Regions from separate parts of the Homo sapiens genome. Here region 2 is linked to region 1. Evidence: promoter capture Hi-C in human tissues and cell types (Jung and others, 2019). All regions are on one chromosome and are shown on one strand. The core of a region is centred on a gene start or on the middle of the fragment in contact, and the rest is flanking DNA. Distances in the headings are between cores, read along the strand shown.

Region 1 (4,783 bases), core at 1,217-3,716:
CACTGCGCCCGGCCTCTTTTTTTTGAGTCTCACTCTGTTGCCCAGGCTGGAGTGCAGTAGCCTGATCTTGGCTCATTGCAACCTCTGCCTCCTGGGTTCAAGCGATTCTTGTGCCTCAGCCTCCCAAGTAGCTGGGACTACAGTCATGCGCCACCATGCCTGGCTAATTTTTGTATTTTTAGTAGAGACAGGTTTCACCGTGTCTGGTCTTGAACTCTTGACCTCAGGTGATTCACCTGCCTCGGCCTCCCAAAGTGCTGGGATTGCAGGTGTCAGCCACTATGCCCAGTCCAAGGGAATCTCTTTAAAAGTACCCATTCATTGCTTGAGGAATATTGAGAAAAACTATTATTGGAAGGGGAAATATATCTGGAAGCCTTTACCATGGTGGGGTGGGGGTGAAATAATGGACAGGTGGGACCAGGGATGGGGAAAAGGAGATTTCCTTGGAAAGGTCCATTCTTTGAGGGTGAGGGTAGTTGCACAGTTCATTTTAGAAATAGGGATCTCCTTGAAAGCATCTAATGCTTGAGGGAAAGAAATGGTAGAGCCCATGTTAAGAAATGGGTCTCTGGCTGGGTGTGGTGGCTCACACCTGTAATCCCAGCACTTTAGGAGGCCAAGGCAGGCGGATCACAAGGTCAAGAGATCGAGACCATCCTGGCCAACATGGTGACCCTGTCCCTACTAAAAATACAAAAATTAGCTGGGCGTGATGGTGCGCGCCTGTAGTCTCAACTACTCGGGAGGTTGAGGCAGGGGAATCGCTTGAACCCGGGAGGCGGAGGTTGGAGTGAGCCGAGATCGTGCCACTGCACTCCAGCCTGGCAACAGAGCGTGACTCTGTCTCAAAGAAAAAAAGGGGGGTCTCCTTGTACATAGCCGGTCTTCGGGATGGGTGTTATGGGACCATCCACCATACAAAGTGCCTGGGAAGAGTCCACTCAGTGGCGTTGCGGGTGCTTAGAGAGTCCTTTGAGATCCAGATCTCCTTGGAGTGTCTATTCAAAGTCGGTGGGGGGCCGGGCGCGATAGTTCACGCCTGTAATCCCAGCACTTCGGGAGGCCGAGGTAGGTGGATCACCTGAGATCAGGAGTTTAAGACCAGCCTGGCCAACATGGTGAAACCCTTTCCCTACTAAAAATACAAAAATTAGCCGGGTGTGGTGGCAGGCGCCTGTACTCCCAGCTACTCAACAGACTGAGGCAGGAGAATTGCTTGAACTCAGGAGGCAGAGGTTGCAGTGAGCCGAGATCGTGCCACTGGACTCCAGCCTGGAGGACAGAGCGAGACTCCATCTCAAAAAAAAAAAAAAAAAAAAAAAGAAGAAGAAGGAAAAAAAAAGTTGGTGGGAATAGAAAAGTTGTTGTAGAAAACAGAGAGAACAGATCTGAAGATATGGATTGAAGTGATGTCCTTAGTGCATCCTCGTTTCCCCTCCAGGACTTTGTGGTGTATGTGATGACGCGAGAGCAGCACGTGTTTGGGCGAGGTGGGAACTCGTCTGGCCGCGGGGGGTCCCCGGCTCCCTATGTGGACACCTTCCTCAACGCCCCGGACATCCTGCCGCGTCACTGCACAGTGCGCGCGGGCCCTGAGCACCCGGCCATGGTGCGCCCGTCCCGGGGCGCCCCAGTCACGCACAACGGGTGCCTCCTGCTGCGGGAGGCTGAGCTGCACCCGGGCGACCTCCTGGGGCTGGGCGAGCACTTCCTGTTCATGTACAAGGACCCCCGCACTGGGGGCTCGGGGCCTGCGAGGCCGCCGTGGCTGCCCGCGCGCCCCGGGGCCACGCCGCCAGGCCCTGGCTGGGCCTTCTCCTGTCGCCTGTGCGGCCGCGGCCTGCAGGAGCGCGGCGAGGCACTGGCCGCCTACCTGGACGGCCGTGAGCCAGTCCTGCGCTTCCGGCCGCGCGAGGAGGAGGCGCTGCTGGGCGAGATCGTGCGCGCCGCAGCCGCCGGCTCGGGAGACCTGCCGCCCCTCGGGCCCGCCACGCTGCTGGCGCTGTGCGTGCAGCATTCCGCCCGTGAGCTGGAGCTGGGCCACCTGCCACGACTGCTGGGCCGCCTGGCCCGGCTCATCAAGGAGGCCGTCTGGGTGAGCGCCCCCCAATCGCCGTCCAGCCCCACCAGCGCCCCAAGTCCCTTCTCCAGCCTCCCTTCCCTACCTTCAACCCTTTTCATAGCTGGGCTGGATACTACTGTTCCCATGACGCCTCGGGAAGGATTTGGGGTTTTGGGTTTTGTTTGTTTGTTTGTTTGCTTTTGTTTTTGAGACGGAGTCTCGCTCTGTTACCCAGGCTGGAGTGCAGTGGCGGTCTTGGTTCACTGCAACCTCTACCTCCGGGGTTCAAATGATTCTTCTGCCTCAGCCTCCCGAGTAGCTGGGATTGCAGGCGCCTGCCAGCACGCCCGGCTAATTTTTTGTATTTTTAGTAAGACGGGGTTTCACCATATTGGCCAGGCTTGTCTGGAACTCCTGACCTCGTGGTTCGCCCGCCTCGGCCTCCCAAAGTGCTGGGATTACAGGTGTGAGCCACCACACCCGGTGTTTTGGGGTTATTAAGCAAGGGGCCCCCCCATAGAATGCTGGGAGATGTAGATCCACTGCACTTAGAGGGAAGCCCAAACTCACCTTAGGAGAGCTCACCTAAGCACGAACTCACCTTAGGAAGAAACCATTATGGGAGATGGTGGGGGAGAGATCCCACTGGATGAGAAGTTGACAGAGATCAGTGTGAGAATTCACCGCAGCCCATTGGGCTTGGAGCTTGGATAGCAGTGAGCGAGTTCATTCTTGGAGGCGAGGAAGCACAAATCCACTGGACCTACAGATGGAAGTTCCAGAAAGAAACCATTCAGAGTGGGGGAAACGTTCCATCCTATTGAGCTAGGGCCTAACCAGAGAGGTTTAAGGAGTTTCTTGGGGGTAAAAATTGGAGAAGAGGACCTGAAGGAGCTAGATCACTCATAATCATAGGGTGTGTATGTTTTAAAAAGTAAGGAGAGACCATTCTAAAGCTTGTGGGATTAGAATTTGTCTCAAGAGCCAGGCGTGGTGGCTCATGCCTGTAATCCCGGCACTTTGGGAGGCCGAGGCGGGCAGATCACCTGAAGTCGGGAGATCGAGACCATCCTGGCTAACATGGTGAAACCCCGTCTCTACTAAAAATGCAAAAAATTAGCCGGGCATGGTAGCACATGCCTGTAATCCCAGCTACTTGGGAGGCTGAGGCAGGAGAATCACTTGAACCTGGGAGGCAGAGGTTGCAGTGAGCCAAAATTGAGCCATTGCACCCCAGCCTGGGCAACAACAGGGTAACTCCATCTCAAAAAAAAAAAAAAAAAAAAAGAATCCGTATGAAGAGTGAAGGCCGGTTGCAGTGGCTCATGCCTGTAATCCTAGTTCTTTGGGAGGCCAAGGTGGGAGGATCATTTGAGCTCAGGAGTTGGAGACCACCGGTGGCAACATAGTAAGACCCCATCTCTAAGAAAAGTAGGACCAGTCTCTATGAGAGTTGTGCTTCTATAAAAACCAGGGTATTAACTCTTAAGCCCCTCAGTGGATCCCCCTCACCTTGATTCTGATCTTACTGTTCCACAGGAAAAGATTAAGGAAATTGGAGACCGTCAGCCAGAAAAGTAAGAGAAATTCTGAGCAGAGTGGTCTGGAGGGATGCAGGGGTTGGGTTTTGCGTCTAGTTCTGTGTTCACCCCATGCATGCCCCAGTGCAAGTTTCTGCTTCTCCTTGCGCTCAACTTTTCCAGCTGCGCAATGGGAGTTGGTCTTGCTCTCCCACTTAGACTTAGATCTTGGGGTTTGTAAACTATGATGAGGGTTGGGCAGGGATCACAAATTCCTTCCTCTTTTTCAAGCCACCCTGAGGGGGTCCCCGAGGTGCCCCTGACTCCTGAAGCTGTGTCTGTGGAGCTGCGGCCACTCATGCTGTGGATGGCCAACACCACGGAGCTGCTTAGCTTTGTGCAGGAGAAGGTGCTGGAAATGGAGAAGGAGGCTGACCAAGAGGGTGAGCTCTGACTCAGGCTCAGGCTTGTCCAAGTCTCCCATCATGCCCTGCACCTGGGGACCTGGGCTCCTGGCTGCCGACTTCTGGTTCTCCCTCTTAACCCCAAGCCTGTCCTCAGACCCACAGCTCTGCAATGACTTGGAATTATGTGATGAGGCCATGGCCCTCCTGGATGAGGTCATCATGTGTACCTTCCAGCAGTCTGTCTACTACCTCACCAAGGTTGGCCCTTGCCTCTTACTTCCTGTTTGACATAGCATCACTTCCTGTTTCACGTAATATCACTTCCTGTTTGTGGTAACATCACTTCTTGTTTGAACTACACTGTGTGGCTCTGATGTCACTATTTGACTCAAGATTTTCTGCTTTTCTCTGACATGACATCCCATCTCACCCAAGGACTTTGCTGTTCTGACACCACTTGTTAGAGCTTACATCACTTCCTGCCTTTCTGGCTTCTTTTCCTTTGTAATCATCACCTGGGCAAACGCGGTGGCTCACATCTGTAATCCCGGCACTTTGGGAGGTCAAGGCGGGTGGATCACTTGAGGTCAGGAGTTTGAGAGCAGCCTGGCCAACATGGTGAAACCCCATCTCTACTAAAAATACAAAATTAGCCAGGCATGGTGGCCTGCGCCTATAATCCCAGCTATTGGAGAGGCTGAGGCACAAGAATCACTTGAACCTGGGAGGCGGATGTTGCAGTGAACCAAGATTACTTCATGCCACTGCATTCCAACCCGGGAGATGGAGCG
Region 2 (4,311 bases), core at 89-2,588, 82 kb after region 1:
CATGTGCCTGTAGTCCCAACTATTTGGGAGGCTGAGGTGGAAGGAGTGTTTAAGCCCAGGAGGTCGAGGCTGGATCAAGCCATGATCGCACCACTGCTCTCCAGCCTGGGTGACATTGCAAGGCTTGTCTCAAAAAAGAAAATAAAAGAAGACAATGAGCAGTTTCACTACCATTAGACGGGGTGAAAAATAATAAATAACAACAACAACAGTAATATGTGGTCTCTCTGAGGCTGGGTATGGTTGTTCATGCCTGTAATCTCAATGCTTTGGGAGGCCAAGGTGGGAGGATCCCTTGAGGACAGGAGTTTGAGACTAGCCTGAGCAACATAGCATGACCCCATCTCTTCTCCCCAAATACAAAAATGTGGTGTCTCTCTCTGTCTTTGGATCGCTCTTTCTCTCTTTTTGTCTCTCCCCACCCCATCTGCTGCTTGGTCTCTGAGTTTCTGTCTATCTCTAAGTGTGTGTCTCTATGTCTCCATGTCTGTCTCGCTGCGTCTCTGTATCTCCTTTTCTGCCTCTATCTGTATCTCTCTCATTCATTCCTTCCTCTCTCCCTCCCCCTCCTCCTCTCCCTCCTCCCCCTCCTCTCCCTCCCCCTCCTCTCCCTCCTCCCCCTCCTCCTTCACCTCCTCCCCCTCCTCCTCACTCCTGCCTGGCGGTTTGTTCTTGCCTCTCTAACCTTCTGTCCCTCCGCCCTTCCTCTCCGTATCCATCTCAGGCTCCCTTCCCCTCCCCAGCCTACGCAGATGTGGGTCCTCACCTCCCGCTCTCCGCCTCTGCCCTCCCGGCTCCTCCTCCCCGCCCCTCTCTCCCTCGCCAGGTCTCTGCCTCCCCCTCCAGGCGAGCAGCCCTCACTGCACTTCAGGCTCCTAGGGGATCCCCCGGCCCCGTTAAGGCAGCCCCAGGCAGAGACCCAGTGGAGCCCTGGGGCGGGGAAGGGGGGCTGCGGGCGCTGGGGCGGCTCCAACCTGGGTCCCAGCGAGCAGGGGGACCCTGCATCCGCCAAGGCCGGCGGCCCCCAGCATGGAGACTTCCGAAGCCACTCCCAGCTCCACCTTAAGCGCCCCCCCTTCCCCTTGCTGCGGAGGATGGAAACAGCCTGCTCCCGGCCCCAGGTGTCCCGGCCACCCCCGCCCGCGTGGCCCCAGCGCGGCTGGGAGCCGAGGACCAGCCCCCTACCTCCTTCCGAATCCTGCCCTTTCGCACATCCCACCCCAAGCCAACCCGAGGAGTGTTTGCCGCTATGAGATCACCTGCTCCCCCAGCCCAACAACAAAATTAAATAACACCACGGGAGAGGAGAGAGGGAGGGGGAGGAGGGAGGAAGGGACAAGAGAGAAGAGAGACTGAAACAGGGAGAAGAGGCAGGAGAGGAGGAGGTGGGGAGAGCACGAAGCTGGAGGCCGACACTGAGGGAGGGCGGGAGGAGGTGAAGAAGGAGAGAGGGGAGAAGAGGCAGGAGCTGGAAAGGAGAGAGGGAGGAGGAGGAGGAGATGCGGGATGGAGACCTGGAGTTAGGTGGCTTGGGAGAGCTTAATGAAAAGAGAACGGAGAGGAGGTGTGGGTTAGGAACCAAGAGGTAGCCCTGGGGGCAGCAGAAGGCTGAGAGGAGTAGGAAGATCAGGAGCTAGAGGGAGACTGGAGGGTTCCGGGAAAAGAGCAGAGGAAAGAGGAAAGACACAGAGAGACGGGAGAGAGAAGAAGAGTGGGTTTGAAGGGCGGATCTCAGTCCCTGGCTGCTTTGGCATTTGGGGAACTGGGACTCCCTGTGGGGAGGAGAGGAAAGCTGGAAGTCCTGGAGGGACAGGGTCCCAGAAGGAGGGGACAGAGGAGCTGAGAGAGGGGGGCAGGGCGTTGGGCAGGGGTCCCTCGGAGGCCTCCTGGGGATGGGGGCTGCAGCTCGTCTGAGCGCCCCTCGAGCGCTGGTACTCTGGGCTGCACTGGGGGCAGCAGGTAAGACCTGGGGTTCCCGGGAGGAGCCCCCGAGGGAGGGTGGAGGTGGGGATGCCAAGGAGAGGGATTCAGGCTGCTCTCTTCCCAGCTCACATCGGACCAGCACCTGACCCCGAGGACTGGTGGAGCTACAAGGATAATCTCCAGGGAAACTTCGTGCCAGGTGCCGCCAAGGCGGGGACCCAGGAGTCCGGCCCTCCCGGCGCCTCCTTCTTCAGACTCAGGAACCTGGGTTCCCAGCTCCCTCCTCCCCCCCAGGACCAGGAGTCCCAGCCCCCTCCTCTGTCCCTCAGGAGTCGGGCCAGCTTCTGAACCCCAGGGGCTCACCATGGGACATTATACATGCGCATTTCAAGTAGTGAGTGGGAGTGAGTGGAAGGAAAGTGTGGGGGTGGAGATTATGTGTGTGTTTGCCGGGAGAGGAAGGTCCTGGCTCCTGCTAGGAACCAGAGGCTGGGTGGCCCCGTCCCCCACCTTGTCCAGCCTTCTCTTGCAGCTCCTCTCCCCAACACATTAATAATAATCCAGCTGTGGGATAAGAGCGATTAAAAAAAAGAACTACAACTCCCACGGGGCTCTGGGGCAGGTAGGCAGCAGAGGGGTAGGCTGGTAGCACTGGGGCCTGCTGGGAGTTGTAGTTCCATCTACAGTGGCTTAAGATGGGTTTGATCGGCTGGGCGCGGTGGCTCACGCTTGAAATCCCAGCACTTTAGGAGGCCGAGGTGGGTGGATTACCTGTGGTCAGGAGTTCAAGACCAGCCTGGCCAACTTGGTGAAACCCGTCTCTGCTAAACTTGGAAACTATTCCAAGATTCTTCTAGGACCCAGAATTCTGGATCTGAGCCCAGTCCTCCCTCAGACCCAGGAGTCTAGGTCCCTAGCCCCTCCTCCCCTGGGATCTGGGAGTCCAGACCACAGCCCACTCAGCAGATACCAGCCCTGGGATCCAGTCTCTATTTCTGACTCCTTGTCCTCCTACTCCGACCCCACCCCCAGGGCCTCCTTTCTGGGGCCTGGTGAATGCAGCGTGGAGTCTGTGTGCTGTGGGGAAGCGGCAGAGCCCCGTGGATGTGGAGCTGAAGAGGGTTCTTTATGACCCCTTTCTGCCCCCATTAAGGCTCAGCACTGGAGGAGAGAAGGTAAGGGGCTTGGAGGGAGGAGCTATTGAACCCACTGGGGATGGGCATGAATAGAGGCTGGGGAATGGGGTGCTGAGGTAGGAGAGCAGCCTTGGGGGAGGAGGGGACACCCAGTGGGTGGAGAGGAGGCTGCTTACACTGTAAAATGGATCACCCATTCTTCCCATCCCAAGCATGGTCCCCTAGTCTCCCCATCTCTGCAGAAGCAATGAAAAGCAGAACATTTCCTGTGCCAGGCAGATTTAAAACCTTGATAAGCCTCTCATCTCATAACCACCCCACAAAATGGGTACAATTATTATTATTGTTATTATTATTATTATTATTTTGAGATGGAGTTTTGCTCTTGTTGCCCAGGCTGGAGTGCAATGATGTGATCTCAGCTCACTGCAACCTCCACCTCCCAGGTTCAAGCGATTCTCCTGCCCCAGCCTCCCGAGTAGTTGGGATTACAGGCATGCGCACCATCACGCCCAGCTAATTTTTTGTATTTTTAGCAGAGATGGGTTTTCTCCATTTTGGTCAGGCTGGTCTTGAACTCCTGACCTCAGGTGATCCACCTGCCTCGGCCTCCCAAAGTGCTAGGATTACAGGCATGAGCCACTGCGTCCAGCCAAAATGGGTACAATTATTAACCTTATTATATACATGCAGAAACTGACACACAGAGGTTAAGTTACTTGCCTAGGATCACACAGAGAGCCAGCACTGGCATTCAAACCAAGCAGCGTAGCATGAATGCTGGGACCTGCTTTATAGTACCATGCTGGGAACCATACTTTTTTTTTTTTTTTTTGGAATTGGGATCTCACTCTGTGACCCAGGCTGGAGTGCAGTGGCCCAGTCATAGCTCACTGTAACCTCAAATTCCTGGGCCCAAGTGATCTTCCTACCTCAGCCTCAAAAATAGCTAGGACATGCCTGGGTGTGGTGGTTCATGCCTGTAACCCCAGCACTTCGGGAGGCCGAGGTGGGTGGATCACGAGGTTAGGAGTTCGAGATCAGCCTGGCCAACATGGTGAAACCCCATCTCTACTAAAAATACAAAAATTAGCCGGGTGTGGTGGCATGTGCCTGTAATCCCAGCTACTTGAGAGGCTGAGGCAGGAGAATTGCTTGAACCCGGGAGGCGGAGGTTGCAGTGAGCTGACATCACGCCACTGGACTCCAGCCTGGGTGACAGAACAAGACTCCATCTCAGAAAGAAATAAAT

The links. The method cuts DNA at HindIII sites, captures the fragments that hold promoters and counts their contacts. A contact is called where the count stands out against the background at its distance.
Region 2: the fragment with the promoter of CA11 here is called in contact with a fragment that was not itself captured in region 1 in 3 of the 25 tissues and cell types used here (IMR-90 fibroblasts, dorsolateral prefrontal cortex and lymphoblastoid cells).

What each region holds. Positions count from the first base shown.
Region 1 is chr19:48,726,252-48,731,034 of GRCh38, reverse strand. It overlaps RASIP1 (Ras interacting protein 1), which reads left to right. Exons shown (of 12, transcript NM_017805.3): 5 at 1,445-2,098; 6 at 3,605-3,642; 7 at 3,877-4,028; 8 at 4,147-4,250. It overlaps LOC124904737 (a long non-coding RNA gene), which reads right to left and starts at 2,891. Exons shown (of 2, transcript XR_007067286.1): 1 at 2,667-2,891. The HindIII fragment of the contact is 9,581 bases long and covers 1-4,783 here.
Region 2 is chr19:48,643,214-48,647,524 of GRCh38, reverse strand. It overlaps CA11 (carbonic anhydrase 11), which reads left to right and starts at 1,338. Exons shown (of 9, transcript NM_001217.5): 1 at 1,338-1,959; 2 at 2,048-2,122; 3 at 2,956-3,098. The coding sequence starts at 1,893. It also overlaps the pseudogene SEC1P. RefSeq lists silencers at 720-1,129, 1,160-1,349 and enhancers at 1,307-2,007, 2,008-2,708, 2,709-3,410. The HindIII fragment of the contact is 19,792 bases long and covers 1-4,311 here.